2 separate regions of the Homo sapiens genome follow, and region 2 is linked to region 1. Evidence: promoter capture Hi-C in 16 types of primary human blood cells and fetal thymus (Javierre and others, 2016). All regions are on one chromosome and are shown on one strand. Each heading gives the region's core, a stretch centred on a gene start or on the middle of the fragment in contact. The rest is flanking DNA. Distances are from core to core; before and after follow the strand shown. Region 1 holds the start of SOX21 (SRY-box transcription factor 21). Region 2 holds the start of LINC00557 (long intergenic non-protein coding RNA 557).

What was found. The method cuts DNA at HindIII sites, captures the fragments that hold promoters and counts their contacts. A CHiCAGO score of 5 or more calls a contact.
Region 2: a contact is called between a fragment that was not itself captured here and the fragment with the promoter of SOX21 in region 1, in 2 of 17 cell types (megakaryocytes and endothelial precursors). The highest score is 6.6, in megakaryocytes.

The regions. Positions count from the first base shown.
Region 1 is chr13:94,708,129-94,714,941 of GRCh38, reverse strand. SOX21 (SRY-box transcription factor 21) reads left to right here and starts at 2,397. Exons shown (of 1, transcript NM_007084.4): 1 at 2,397-5,320. The coding sequence starts at 2,893. The coding sequence ends at 3,723. It overlaps SOX21-AS1 (SOX21 antisense RNA 1), which reads right to left and starts at 2,226. Exons shown (of 2, transcript NR_046514.1): 1 at 1,549-2,226; 2 at 1-1,304. LOC112268114 (a long non-coding RNA gene) reads left to right here and starts at 1,499. Exons shown (of 2, transcript NR_158368.1): 1 at 1,499-1,534; 2 at 1,680-2,222. It overlaps LINC00391 (long intergenic non-protein coding RNA 391), which reads left to right and starts at 6,441. Exons shown (of 3, transcript NR_170286.1): 1 at 6,441-6,591. RefSeq lists an enhancer at 1,172-1,673. The HindIII fragment of the contact is 9,809 bases long and covers 298-6,813 here.
Region 2 is chr13:94,953,763-94,960,230 of GRCh38, reverse strand. It overlaps LINC00557 (long intergenic non-protein coding RNA 557), which reads right to left and starts at 190. Exons shown (of 1, transcript NR_047487.1): 1 at 1-190. The HindIII fragment of the contact is 2,349 bases long and covers 1,821-4,169 here.

The sequences.
Region 1 (6,813 bases), core at 1,148-3,647:
TCTGTGAATGACAAGAGTGTCTTTACAGAGCCTGTAAAGGAATATGGTTCTGGAGAAATCAGTCCAATTATTTTAACAATGCAAGGGCATAACCGATACAAAATAAGCTTGTCAATACGACATCTTCAGAAAAACAAAAACCCACATAGATGCCACTGCTGTTCACAGTTTTGTTATCACGACTGTAATTTTTAAGTCACTATTCTTTTATTAAAATGAACAAAACAAGCCTAACTTTTACATAAATCTGATGGCCTGAAACAGTTTTAATTCACGTTCATAATTACAATCAAAGCTTTTGTGTGTGTGTGTGTGTGTGTGTGTGTGTGTGTGTGAATGAACTGAACATAAATCGTAGGAAGACTTAAAGAGTTAACCGTTTGTAGATGTTCCTACTTGCACATACCACAGGGCTAGGTCAAATCCAAACTGCCAAAGAAAGAAGGCAAGCAAGTTCTCCCTGAAGGGCAGGCCACCATGTGAATAAAACCTCCAGACAGATCATGTTCTAAATGTGCCGCAGCATACCAAAAAGTGAGGAAAATACGGAAACAGAATCATGCTGTTTGACTTCTGCATCGTGTTAACTATTTTTTTTAAAAAACTGCTCTAACTACTAAAGAAGGAAATTATGCTTAGCATAAAAATATTCCAGCACTGAGTGATTGGTACGTTTTACTTCTCTCTTCCAGGGAAACTACTTACACTTATTGATTTTAAACACCTTCACCTCAGCAGCGCATGTAAGTGAGACACTGTAAGTTAACTGTACCTTAAAGAGATCAGTATATAGATGGTTCTGGCGACCAAGATTACAACAAAAGACAAACAACACAGAATTTTTAAAGAGCTGAATAGTCAGTCAAGGATGCATACTCTCAGTCTGGGCTAGCTCTTTTTTGGAAAGGTTGCCAAGAATGTCCTTATTCCCTCCAGAGTTATTTTTCACTCCACTACCTCTGACTAGGTGCATCGCCAGTGCAAGAAAATGCGAGAAGCCTCTGTTTCTGTTGCAAGCAACACCTGGACCTCCAAGGAAAATGAGCACTTTCTTGCTAGGAACAGTCTCAAACATTTTCAAGGGTGAGTCTCCCCTTCTCCAGGTTTAACCCTCTTCCTCCGTAGCTGGAGAGGCTCTCCTACTCGTGCCCGCCGCCTTCTTCCTCCCGGCGAGGATTCCAGGGCCACAACCAGGGCAGCTGCACGCCAGGCCGGCCTGGGTAGCCGGGATGACACCAGGGTTTGCCAACGCCAAACAGGGCGCAGACTCCCCGGCGCGCTCCGGACTCTCCACTCGCCTAAACCTGCTCTCAAGTGAAAAGGAGTGGGAGGAGGAGGATTGGGAGGGGGCGGGGGGCGGAGGGGATCTGTTAATTCGAGGTCCTGGGGGTGTGGGAGCGGGAGGCGGCTCCGCTGATCCCTCCTCCCTCCCCGAGTCCTGGGCTCCACCTCCTCCGCAGGCCCCCAGATATACACACACAGCCGCGGCTGGACATGCACACCCAGTGCCGGCTCCGGGCGCGCACACATGCAGGTAGCCACACTCACCTGAGCCGGTGCAGAGGGCGGCCTGGGCTGGGAAGGGGCCCCCTGCGCCGCGGGAGTGGGGAGAGCGGGAGGTGCCACAGCGCGGACCTGCGAACTGAGGTGATGGCCCGTTTTCCTTAACTCTCCTGCAGCACCTCCGCCCCTGCGCCGGCTCGGCTCTGGCCACAGCAGCGAGGACAGAGGGGCCCCGGGCGCGGCGGACTCGCGGGCGCACGCTCCCAGGAGCGCGCCGAGAGGGGCGCCGCGGCGCAGGAAACTTGGGCGAAGTTAGTTGCAAGTGCCAGGCGGCTGCCGAGAAGAGCGAGGCGGGGACGCGGCCGGTGCCAGGCCTGCGGCGCCGCGTGGAGGCTGCGCTGCCCTCCGCGGCCGGCGAGCTCCGGGAGCCCTAAGTCGGCAGGCGCGCCTGAAGGGGCTCGGAGCGAACAGAGCCGGCATGGCCCAGGGGACGGCCGGACGCGGCTCCTCGGCGAGCCGGGAGAACTTCCTCTGAGGCCGGGCGACCAACGCTTGCTCAAGCCTCATCCACCCTCCTTCCTCGCCCCACCCGTCAGTCCAGCAGCGGGAGAGGAAGACTCGAGAGGCAGGTGCTGCGGGGGACAGCTCCCCCCTCCAAAAAAAAAAAATCACCCAGCCGATTGGGGGTTTCCCATCGGCGCACCCTGCCCGGAGCCAAGAAGACAGGCTGGTGCTGCTGTATTTGTATTTATATCCATTGCTGCGCTCTGCGTTCTCGTGGCACGCCTGGACACTCCTCCGCCTCCCCCTCCTCTTCCTCCTCCAGGGCCACCTCCCCGCCTTCCCCACCCCCATCTGCTTCTGTCAAATGAGAAAGTCACCGAGGAGAACCCAAACACTCCAGCCGCTGAGAGCCCCCTTTGGCACTTGGCAGCACGCGGCGGCGGGCTCCTCGGCTCAACTTCGAGGAGTCTCCGCGACGCAACTTTTGGGGACGCTTTGCATTTAAGAGAGAACGACCGAGGAGGAGGAGCGCTCTGCCCGGCCGCCGCTACCTGCGGGGAGCTCACCAGCAAACGCCACTGCAGACGAAGGACCCAAAGAACGTAAAGGGCAAACTGCCGCCGCGGGGAGGGGGCACCGCCGAGAAGTTAGAGTGTCCCAGAGACAACCTGCTCGAGCGCTCGGCCGGAGACACTAAGGCGGCCCGGGGCGCGGCGTGGCCCTGGGCTGGTCCCCCAGCCCCCTCCTCCGGGGCGGGAGCGACGCCGGGGCGCGACGAGCCCCGGCCGGCCGAGCGGGTCTCCGCGGGCAGCCAACATTGATTTCCTCCGGGCCGAGGGCGAGGGCCCGGGAGGCGGCGGGCTGCAGCCGCGGCAGGGCGAGAGCATGTCCAAGCCGGTGGACCACGTCAAGCGGCCCATGAACGCCTTCATGGTGTGGTCGCGGGCTCAGCGGCGCAAGATGGCCCAGGAGAACCCCAAGATGCACAACTCGGAGATCAGCAAGCGCTTGGGCGCCGAGTGGAAACTGCTCACAGAGTCGGAGAAGCGGCCGTTCATCGACGAGGCCAAGCGTCTACGCGCCATGCACATGAAGGAGCACCCCGACTACAAGTACCGGCCGCGGCGCAAGCCCAAGACGCTGCTCAAGAAGGACAAGTTCGCCTTCCCGGTGCCCTACGGCCTGGGCGGCGTGGCGGACGCCGAGCACCCTGCGCTCAAGGCGGGCGCCGGGCTGCACGCGGGGGCGGGCGGCGGCCTGGTGCCTGAGTCGCTGCTCGCCAATCCCGAGAAGGCGGCCGCGGCCGCCGCCGCTGCCGCCGCACGCGTCTTCTTCCCGCAGTCGGCCGCTGCCGCCGCCGCTGCCGCCGCCGCCGCCGCCGCGGGCAGCCCCTACTCGCTGCTCGACCTGGGCTCCAAAATGGCAGAGATCTCGTCGTCCTCGTCCGGCCTCCCGTACGCGTCGTCGCTGGGCTACCCGACCGCGGGCGCGGGCGCCTTCCACGGCGCGGCGGCGGCGGCTGCAGCGGCGGCCGCCGCCGCCGGGGGGCACACGCACTCGCACCCCAGCCCGGGCAACCCGGGCTACATGATCCCGTGCAACTGCAGCGCGTGGCCCAGCCCCGGGCTGCAGCCGCCGCTCGCCTACATCCTGCTGCCGGGCATGGGCAAGCCCCAGCTGGACCCCTACCCCGCGGCCTACGCTGCCGCGCTATGACCCCGCGGGGCCGCCTCGCGAGGACCGGTGTGCACACGTGTACATATGTATAGGTACGAGCGCTGCGGCCTCCCCGTGCGCCCTCCCGCGACCGGGGGCCCGGTTTGTATGTACATAGAATGTATAGGTGCCAGGTAGAGGCAGAGAGGCCAGGCGGGGCAGGAGTGGCCAAGCGCGCAAGGGCGCGGGCGAGCAGGCCTGTGAATTCGCAGGATCATTTCAGACCCGCACTTCGGCAGCCAACTCGAAAGCAGGCGGTTGTGTGCGGCAGCAGTTGGCGTTTGCTTTGCACTTCGGAACCTGTTGCGTTTTGACCCACGGAGGTGGAGGAGTAACTTTTTGACATGTTGGCCTTTCCAGTTTTGTTGGAAGTTTCATGGTCGGTTTTGTTTTTGTTTCTCATTCTTCTTCCTCGCCCCTCAGCCCCCCAACCCCCAACCCCCTCCCGGTCCGTGTTGCATGCACGCTGTTCAAATGTGAGGTCTGAAATGGCTGGCACACGGGAAAAGCTGCTTGTGTCATTCGTTTCTGGGAGTGGGATGGCTCTGAGCAGCCTCGCCTCCCTGTTTGTACTATTTGAACTTTGCAGATCTCTGTTCTCTCAAGCAGAACTCCCAACCAGATCCATTCTTGACCAGTGACCGGCTCGAATCTGGCCTTTTGTGTGAGATGATCACGGTTTCTTTTGTTTATCACGCCATTTGCAAATCAGAGCAAGAGCTCTTTCTCAAGGGCAAGAAACGCAAACAAGAAATATTTGTGAGATGAAAGTTGTCAATTGGATTTTCTTCCTAAACAAACAACAACAACAAACTACTAGAAGTCTCCCTGAGTCCACTCGCTTGGATTTCTGACACAGTTTACAAAAAAGGAAAAAGGCACTGCTCCTATTTTCCCTTATGGCTGAGTTCACCTTAAGATTGTAAATGTGTATATGTCAGTGAAAACATTGAGGCTTGGAAAATGTGTTATTTTCGTTGCCCTAAGTTTGAGTCGACTTTAGACTCAAAAACATTTTGAGCGAATATCAAAGTTAACTTTTAAAAATTGCGAAACTATTTCAGAATCGCAATTTTATCGAAGATTAAATCAGACTTTTTTGTCTGGTAATTATATATTTATTATTTAGCAAAACTGAAGAAAAAAAGCACAGAATTGTTTCAACAGATGTCTCTCATTTTCAGCTAGCATTTCTCTCCCAAGTTGAGCTGGTTTAATGTGTTTTGGATTTCCCTCCTCAATTGGCTTATTTTTTAGATCACCTGCAATTCATTTGCAAATTGCAATAAAACACATTTTAGAAAAAAGGAACCTTCAATTATTAGCTTTGTTTCTTTTTAAATGTATATATTTTGACTAATGTTTGTGAATGAAGTTGGCTAACATGTATTTAGTTTCATTTTGGCTTTATGTAATATAAAGTTTTTAAAATTTTAAATATGGTTTTAACCTTTATGTGTAAATGATTTTCTAGTGTGACCTTCTAATTTAATATTAGACGTCTAAGGTATATCTGTAAATTAGAATCCGACTATCACTCTGTTCATTTTTTTTGAACAAAGAGTTTAAATAAAGCCTGAACCAGGGAAAAGAAAAATCTTCTATTTCTTGTTGAGTTCCTAACAAGATTTTTATCTGAATTGCCCTTACGTGCCTGGTCCAGGTGAAGTGTAAGGTATCCTCCAAAGGCACCCTTTGTTTCACTTTTGAATAGATTTACTAGGAAATCTAAATCAAGCCATTGTTATTCAGAGCCAAAAACCTGATTTATCACATTTTTAATCGTGAATAGGAAAGAAGATTTTTAAAAAGCCCAAGTCGTTGTATTAGCTTTAACAACAACAAAAAAAAGGCATTCATGAACCAGTAGAACAGAGCCCATTGAAAACATCCAGACCTTTCAAAGCATTTCACCAGTTTCTAGTAACATTTTAAGAGGGGAAAGTTGCTTGACCACTTTATCTTGTTAGTTGAAGAGCCCCACCACTTAAATCAGTGTAATTTGTTCTCCTATCTTTGGGGTATTCCTTGTTGACACCTTAAGGTTTTATTTGGAAGGATAATCACTACTAACGACAAAGTACAAATTTTGGCCTCTTTAGGACTTAATTTTGTTATGCTAATCGCATTAAAGTAGAAGTATAACATTCAAATGGAGAGGGTTGGATTTCTAGGGCTAGACAAATTGCTACTAAAGTTTGAAAAATCATAAAGGATTTTAATTTTAGACAAGAAATAGAAGACTGTCAGAAAAAAAAAAATAGGAAGATCTCGCCCCCCCGCAACCAAAATGGAAATTCTCAAGATACTATATACAAGTCTTAAACCAGTTTCCCCATTGAGACCATCTCTGGAGCTGCACGTCTTTATAAACGACCCAAGTCTTTAAAGTCATTGTTTTCCCCCAACGGAATAATATTTTAAAAACCATGAAAAGTTTTGGAAATGTGAGAAATAGGCTCTGCTGGTTTGACCCTGATTCACTAATTAAAATGATCCCTCTCCTGTTATTCCCTGAGCTCTTTGCAATATTATAAGTTAATTCATATGGTTCTGAGCGATTATGCAAAACTAATTTGGACTGTCCAGGGGTAATTATCCCTGACACGGTTAATTAAATCCTTTCAAGGCTTCGTCTTTCCCTTTTGTAGCAGCCCATCCCTTCTCAACACGGAACTTCCTGCGGCTCGCTGGAAATCACCCCAGCCCTAAATCTTAGTTACCACCCTGAGCCTTCCAGCTCGGCCGCCTCCTCGGCCTGAAGACTCCCCGCCTCCTCCCGCCCCCTCCCCTTTTCCCAAAGATCAGCGTTTTCTGGGAGAAACGCTCCGGAGTTGTTGATGAATGAGAAGAGGACTGGAAAGATGGGTAAGAGGAGGGGTGAGGATGCCGAGGGGGAGCACCGAGGTCATATCGCCAACAGATTGTGCGGCTGTTTGAGGACCTCCACAGGCCCCACAGACTCGTTTATCACCCATTCTGACTCCAATGGTCTTGCTAACAAGTTGGCGGGTTTTGCGCCTGCAGAGAGCCTCCTGCCAAGTTAGACTGTGCAGAAGTAAGGGGTTGGAGCGGGGGGAGCGGCTCCGG
Region 2 (6,468 bases), core at 1,746-4,245, 240 kb before region 1:
AGACACTCAGAAAGGAACAGTGAAAGGATGATGGTGGTTTTGAGCTTCTAAACTCTCTCTACCCATCTGATGAGAAAGAAGATGGTGTCAGCATTTTATGGACACACTTCCTTCACAGGCCTGCATTTTGTAACTGTCACCATCTCCCAAGGTTTAGAGTTGGCCTTTTGTTTCAGAATATCATTTCCTTTTCAGTGTTCCTATTGAGGGTAAATATGATCTTAATATATTTCTGAGTATTCAATGCCAACCTTTAAAAAAATCTATAAACATATAATTAGATTTTTTTTTCCAGCAGAGAAGGCCATTTATGTTATTCATCTTCCCTTGGAGTCTGAGCTAGAGTCCTTTGGTTTTGCTAGTTAGGATTCAAATCAGGCAGCCTCATCAGAGAATTTCCGGGCAGCAGTCACACTGGCGCTGGGTAATGTTTGTTACTCAGACTTGAGGGGTAATGGGGAAAAGGAGGACGGCAAAGCTCACTAAACTCTTGAGCAGGTTAACATCTTCCGAATACTGCATTGTCTGCTGTTTCTGCCACTCTGTATACATCACAACTGTGAAAGACATCAAAGGAAAATAGAGAGAAATAATACATGGATTCAAACACACACACAAAGCTGCTGAACATTCATTAAAATGCATATCAAGGATGGGCAATTATTACCTCTTACTCCTCAGTTCCAGTAGTACCAATCTGTCTTTTAAAAATCAGAAAAAAACAAAACAAAACGGATTCAGTTCTTTGGTTTTTGTGTAATCTGTGTATGTGCGAGTGAATGTGTGTGATATTCTTTAAGTTAGAGGTGCTGCAAATTCACTGAATAGTTAAGTGATGTGATTCTGATGTGTTTCTTTTTCCTTCCTATTAAAGTGAACTGCCCCATTTTGAGGATGATTTGCTACAATATTACTGCCGCTGCGGTGTATAAATATCTTTGGCGAATTCAGAGTATACATGTTTTTCAAATAACTGTGCCTGACTAGTATCTCCATAGGGTCTCTATCTCAGACTTCTTAAGTTCATTCTCTTATTTCCTAAGTTGTTGTTTTTCATTGCTTTCTTCTTTTAAACCAGATGCTTCTTTGTACCTTCAGGCCACTACCCCCATTTTAAAGATGGAGAAAGATATAAAACATTAGCACTTTATTCAAGATCACAGATAAAAACCTCATAGCATAGGTTTATAATATCCCGATTTACTGAGCTATGTACCTAGATTAAAGCATCCTATATATGCTTTATGCACCATTGCTCCAGAAAGGATAAAAGTGATCCCTGAATAATCATTGACAGCAATCACTGGGGAAAAAATGTTATCTTGACTCAGACAACTGTTATAATAGCAATGACAGCACTAAAAGAGAAAAATTAAATCAATGATTTCTAATTAGATTAAATTGGTATTAGAATACACTTTTTATTTCTGTTTTATCAGATTAAGTAAACTTTGTTTCCATTTGTCTTATTTTTGGGAGATTTAGACAAACAACATCTATTTGAGTCATTAAAACAGTTAATGCAATTTAAAACACATTGAAATACATTCTTTATTTTTTTGCTGGCATAATCTCAGACTACTTTATGAAATATCTCTCTGTTTAAGGATACTAATGTTTTACTTTACTTTTAGAAATTTGCAACTTAGATGAGTGAGTTAATAGTTAATCAAAATAGTTTAAACCAGAGGGCTCCAGACATTTTTTGATAGTGTATACCTATAATTAAGGAAACCTGAACATACGCCCTAGCCTAGGCATGTTTATTTTTCATAAAGTATACACATGTACTACTTCATATCATAAATATTAATAAAGCTTAGTTTCTTTCTTACATTTTAGATTTAAAACTATCAGTAGAAGTTATACTTTTCTTCCTCCACCACAAAGGTTGATTTTGGACATATCCCATTTAGACAACTGATATAAACTATTGTGAAGTTTCTACTTTGCAAGTGAAGGTGCTTCTTTTTTTTAACTTTATTTAAAGTATTTATTCTTTATCATTCATGTGTAACTGTTATATTTGGTATTTGTGTAGTTTTATTGCAATGTTAGTGTGAAAATAAACACCATAACATTAAAAGACTAAAGCATAATTCAGTCTTCTGATCTAAAAGCCAAGTGTGTTAAGTGTATGTAAATCAGAGTATCTAGAAGTGTCAAGTATTTGAAGGTTTTCTATAAGAAAGTGGCTCCAGGCTGGGTGCAGTGGCTCACGCCTGTAATCCCAGCACTTTGGGAGGCTGAGGCGGGTGGATCACCTGAGGTCAGGAGTTTGAGACCATCCTGGCCAACATGGTGAAATCCTATCTCTATTAAAAATACAAAAATTAGCTGGGCATGGTGGTGCGGGCCTGTAGTCCCAGCTACTTGGGAGGCTAAAGCAGGAAAATTGTTTGAACCTGGGAGGCGGTGGTTGTAGTGAGCCGAGACCGTGCCATTGCACTCCAGCCTGGGCAACAAGAGTGAAACTCTGTCTTGAAAAAAAAAAAAAAGCTCCAGTTTGTTTTGTATCTTTCTAGAAAGACTATTTGGGACCCAGTGGAAGGTACTGGGAGGCAAACTGCTTTGCTCAAGGAAGAGCATTTTAATTTATAGATTTATTTAAAATATAGACTACCCTAGTGCAACCCGTCTTATCCCCCGATGCAGTCAATCCCCTAACTAAGTAGGGTTCGGAGCTGCTGGGGAATTGTAGCCAGATTCTTGCACAGGGAAGAAGTTGGAGCAGATAATCTCAGGTTCCTTTTCATTCTTAAGTTCTGTGATTTTATAATAATCAGATAACAATTATTCAGAAGCCCAGTAACGTGGAATCCCTTTGCCACAAAGAGGTGTATTGACTGTGTTCAAATGCGCAAAGGCCATGTAGGAGGTGGAGGTTGAAGAGAGGTTCCGCTAGTCCAGAACCACAAGAAATCCAACTTCAACTGGGCAGAAGAGACAGTAGGGAGCTTCAGTCACCACATTTTGGATTAAGTGAGTTTCAGAAGGTTCTCCCATAAAGAATCTTTGCAGAGGGAATAAAAAATTATCCATCTGAGAAGGTCTGAACTTAAAAGTCAGGAGTAAGCTGATTCACTCTTGGTTAATTAGCTAAAGCTATTTCCCCTGTCCCCACTCCAACCACCAAAGAAAAGAAGGGAAACTTCCAATAGAGTATAAAGTGTCATTTTAATGCTTCTTTGACTTGCTTCTTTTGTTTACGAGAAATTTACTCTGAGTCAGTGGGCAGGGGCAGGCTAATCATGCATTATCTTATATTAAAACAAAAGAAATATGTTGTATGATTCCTCACAGATCCAGAGCCAGAGGCTGGGTGTGGGTTTCTTGTCTGTGCAGTATCTTATAAAAATAAATGAACCAGAGAATAAAGATAAGATGAAAGTTCCATCACTTATAGGCATGAGAGGCAGAAAATGCTCAGACCCTTCTTCCCGGGTGATGTAAACAGGCAGCATCGTCAGTGAATAGTTCTACTTACTGAGGGTTTCTGGGAGCAGAAATCAATGCTGTTGCTTACGGGGCAGGTGCAGTGCAAATAAAGCCCCTCAGTGCTGTCCTTGGGCTCAAAGAGGCATGAGATCACACAGTTCACACAGGCCACAAGAAAGCTGCCAGCTCTGCCCATCTGGAGGCCGCTGTTGTGATCAACTCCCCATAGAAGTGGGCACCCTGCTCTTCTGCCTCTGCTATGCAGCTCACAGAGTCCTTCCTCAGCAGAGGCAGGGACAAAGCAAACATCCTCTTTTTCAGGCCATGTCCAGAGAGTTTTGCCTCTGGCTGGTACATAGACTCAAAGATGAAAGCATCAGTTTTACCAACTGGACAGTTAGTGTTTGCTGCATGATGCTCTGATGGTTTGTAACCAAAGTTGGGGTAATTTGGCTTACAAAATGGAAACCTGTATGTCTAAAGCAAGCCAGTGATGAGGATAAACTCAATGAAGACTCTGCACTCCATAATTATTTATATGCCAAGAACAAGTCAAGTAATGATTTAAAACATGGATTCCTTAAAATGTTGCCTGGAAGATTTTATAATTTGCTATAAATCATGAATATTGTCTAAATCTGTGCATATGTTTGCTCTTCAATTGTATTTCGAATAATCCTTTATGTCATGTGAATGTAATTATGTAAGTTCATTGAGTTGATTTCAAAGCTTATGAGTTTCAAATTATTTCTTTATTTAGAGTTTTAATGGGCTTTCATAATTAGAACAAAATATAGAAAGTAACAGTAAATTCTATTGTCATTAGCTGTAACTTTGACAATTTTTAAAATTCAGAGTATAATGATGTATTTAAGGTTTAATTGAGCTTTATTAGTTTTATCCCAATAATTGAGAAATTATAATGATGTAGGCAAGAACTGAGCCAAAGTTTACCTTTGTGCAGCCTATAAAAATATTCTTGGTAAACCAATGAATATTGCTAGGAGGCCCCAAGCTGGCCAAGTGAAGTAGGATTTATGAAAGACTGATGTACAAACTCCCAAATGATAAGGCTGTAGCTTCAGATGTAGATACATTCATGCCTCTGAGTTATGTCCTTACATTTGACTGTCTCTCATGCTCCTTGGACAAGCCCATCACAAGCAGATTCTTCTGTCTTCACTCTCAAAGCATAAAATTGTGTCCAATTTCTGGGGATATCTTATTTTAGATAGTGAGTGATTCCATGAACAGTGAAGCAAATTGTGAGCAAAATAGAGAAGATGAAATATTATTGCAATAGTCATTTTTAGAAGCAGGTATAACTTACATATCATACAATTAACCCATTCTAAGTGTACAATGAGTGATTTTTGGTAAATTTTCAGAGTTGTGCAAATGTCACCATAATCCAGTTGTAGAACACATTTATATTACTCCAAAAAGGTCCCTTGGGTCTGTTTGCAGTCAACTCCTTCTCCCATTCCCCAAACCCCATGCAACTGCTAACCTGCATTTTGTCTCTGTGGATTTTTCTTTTTGGGGCATTTCATATAAAAGTAGTCCTAAAATGTGCACGTAGTCTTTTTTATCTTGCTTCTTTCACTTAGCATAATGTTCTTGAGATTCATTAATATTGTAGCATGTATCAGTACTTCTTTTAATTGTTGAATAATATTCCATTTTATGAATATGTCACATTTTGTTTATCCATTCATCATCAGTTTGTTTCCATTTTGATTATTATGCACTACCTGCTAAGAACATTTACGTACAATTCTTTGTGTGGATAGGCTTTCATTTCTCTTTGGTAGATAACTAGGAGTGCAATTGCTGGGCCAGATGATAAATTTATGTATAACTTCTTAAATGAAACTATCAAACTGTTTTCCAAAATGGCTGTTCTATTTTGCATTCCCGCAAACAATGTATAAGCATCCCAGTTTCTCTTTATCTTTGCCAAAACTTGTTATTTTTTCCCCACTGCTGAAATCTATCATGCATTTATTTATTTATTATTTATTTTTAAATAATTTCAACTTTTATTTTAGATATGGGGGTACATATGCGGGTTTGTTATGTGGGTATATCATGTGATGCCAAGGCTTAGAGTACAAATGTTCCCATCATTCAGGTAGTGAGCATAGTACCCAATACGTAGTTTTTCAACACTACCCCCAACCCTGCTCCTCCCTCTAGTAGTCTTCAATGTCTATTGTTGCCACCTTTATGTCTGTGAGTATGCAAGGTTTAGCTCCCACTTGTAAGTGAGAACATGTATACCTTACTTTCTGTTCCTGTGTTAATTCGCTTAGGATAATAGCTTCCAGATGCATCCATGTTGCTGCAAAGGACATGATTTAATTCTTTTTTATGGCTGTGTAGTATTCCATGATGTGTAAGCCCCATATTTTCTTTAGCCAGTCTGCTGTTGATGGGCACCTAGGTGGATTCCATGTCTTTGCTACTGTGAATAATGCTGTGGTGAACATATGAGTGCACATGTCTTTTTGGTAGAACAATTTATTTTCCTCTGGGTATATACCCAGTAATGGGATTGCTGGGTCAAATGGTAGTTGTATTTTTAATTTTTTGAGAAGTGTCCAAACGGCTTTCCACAGTAGCTGAAATAATTTACCTTCCTACCAACAGTGTATAAATGTTCCCATTTCTCTGCAGTCTCCAGCATCTGTTGGTTTTTGACTTTTTAATAATAGCCATTCTGACTGGTATGAGGTGGTATGTTACTGTGGTTTTTTGATTTGCATTTCTCTGATGATTAGTGATGAGCATTTTTTCATGTTTGTTGGATGTTTGTTATGTCTTCTTTTGAAAAGTATCTGTTCCTGCCTTTTGCTCACTTTTTAATAGGGTTATTTGTTTTTTGCTTGTTGATTTAAGTTCCTTATAGATTCTAGATATTAGAACTTTGTTGGATGCATAGTTTCCAAATATTTTTTCCCATTCTGTAGGTTGTCTGCTTACTTTATTGATAGTTTATTTTGCTGTGCAGAAGCTCTTTAATCCAAT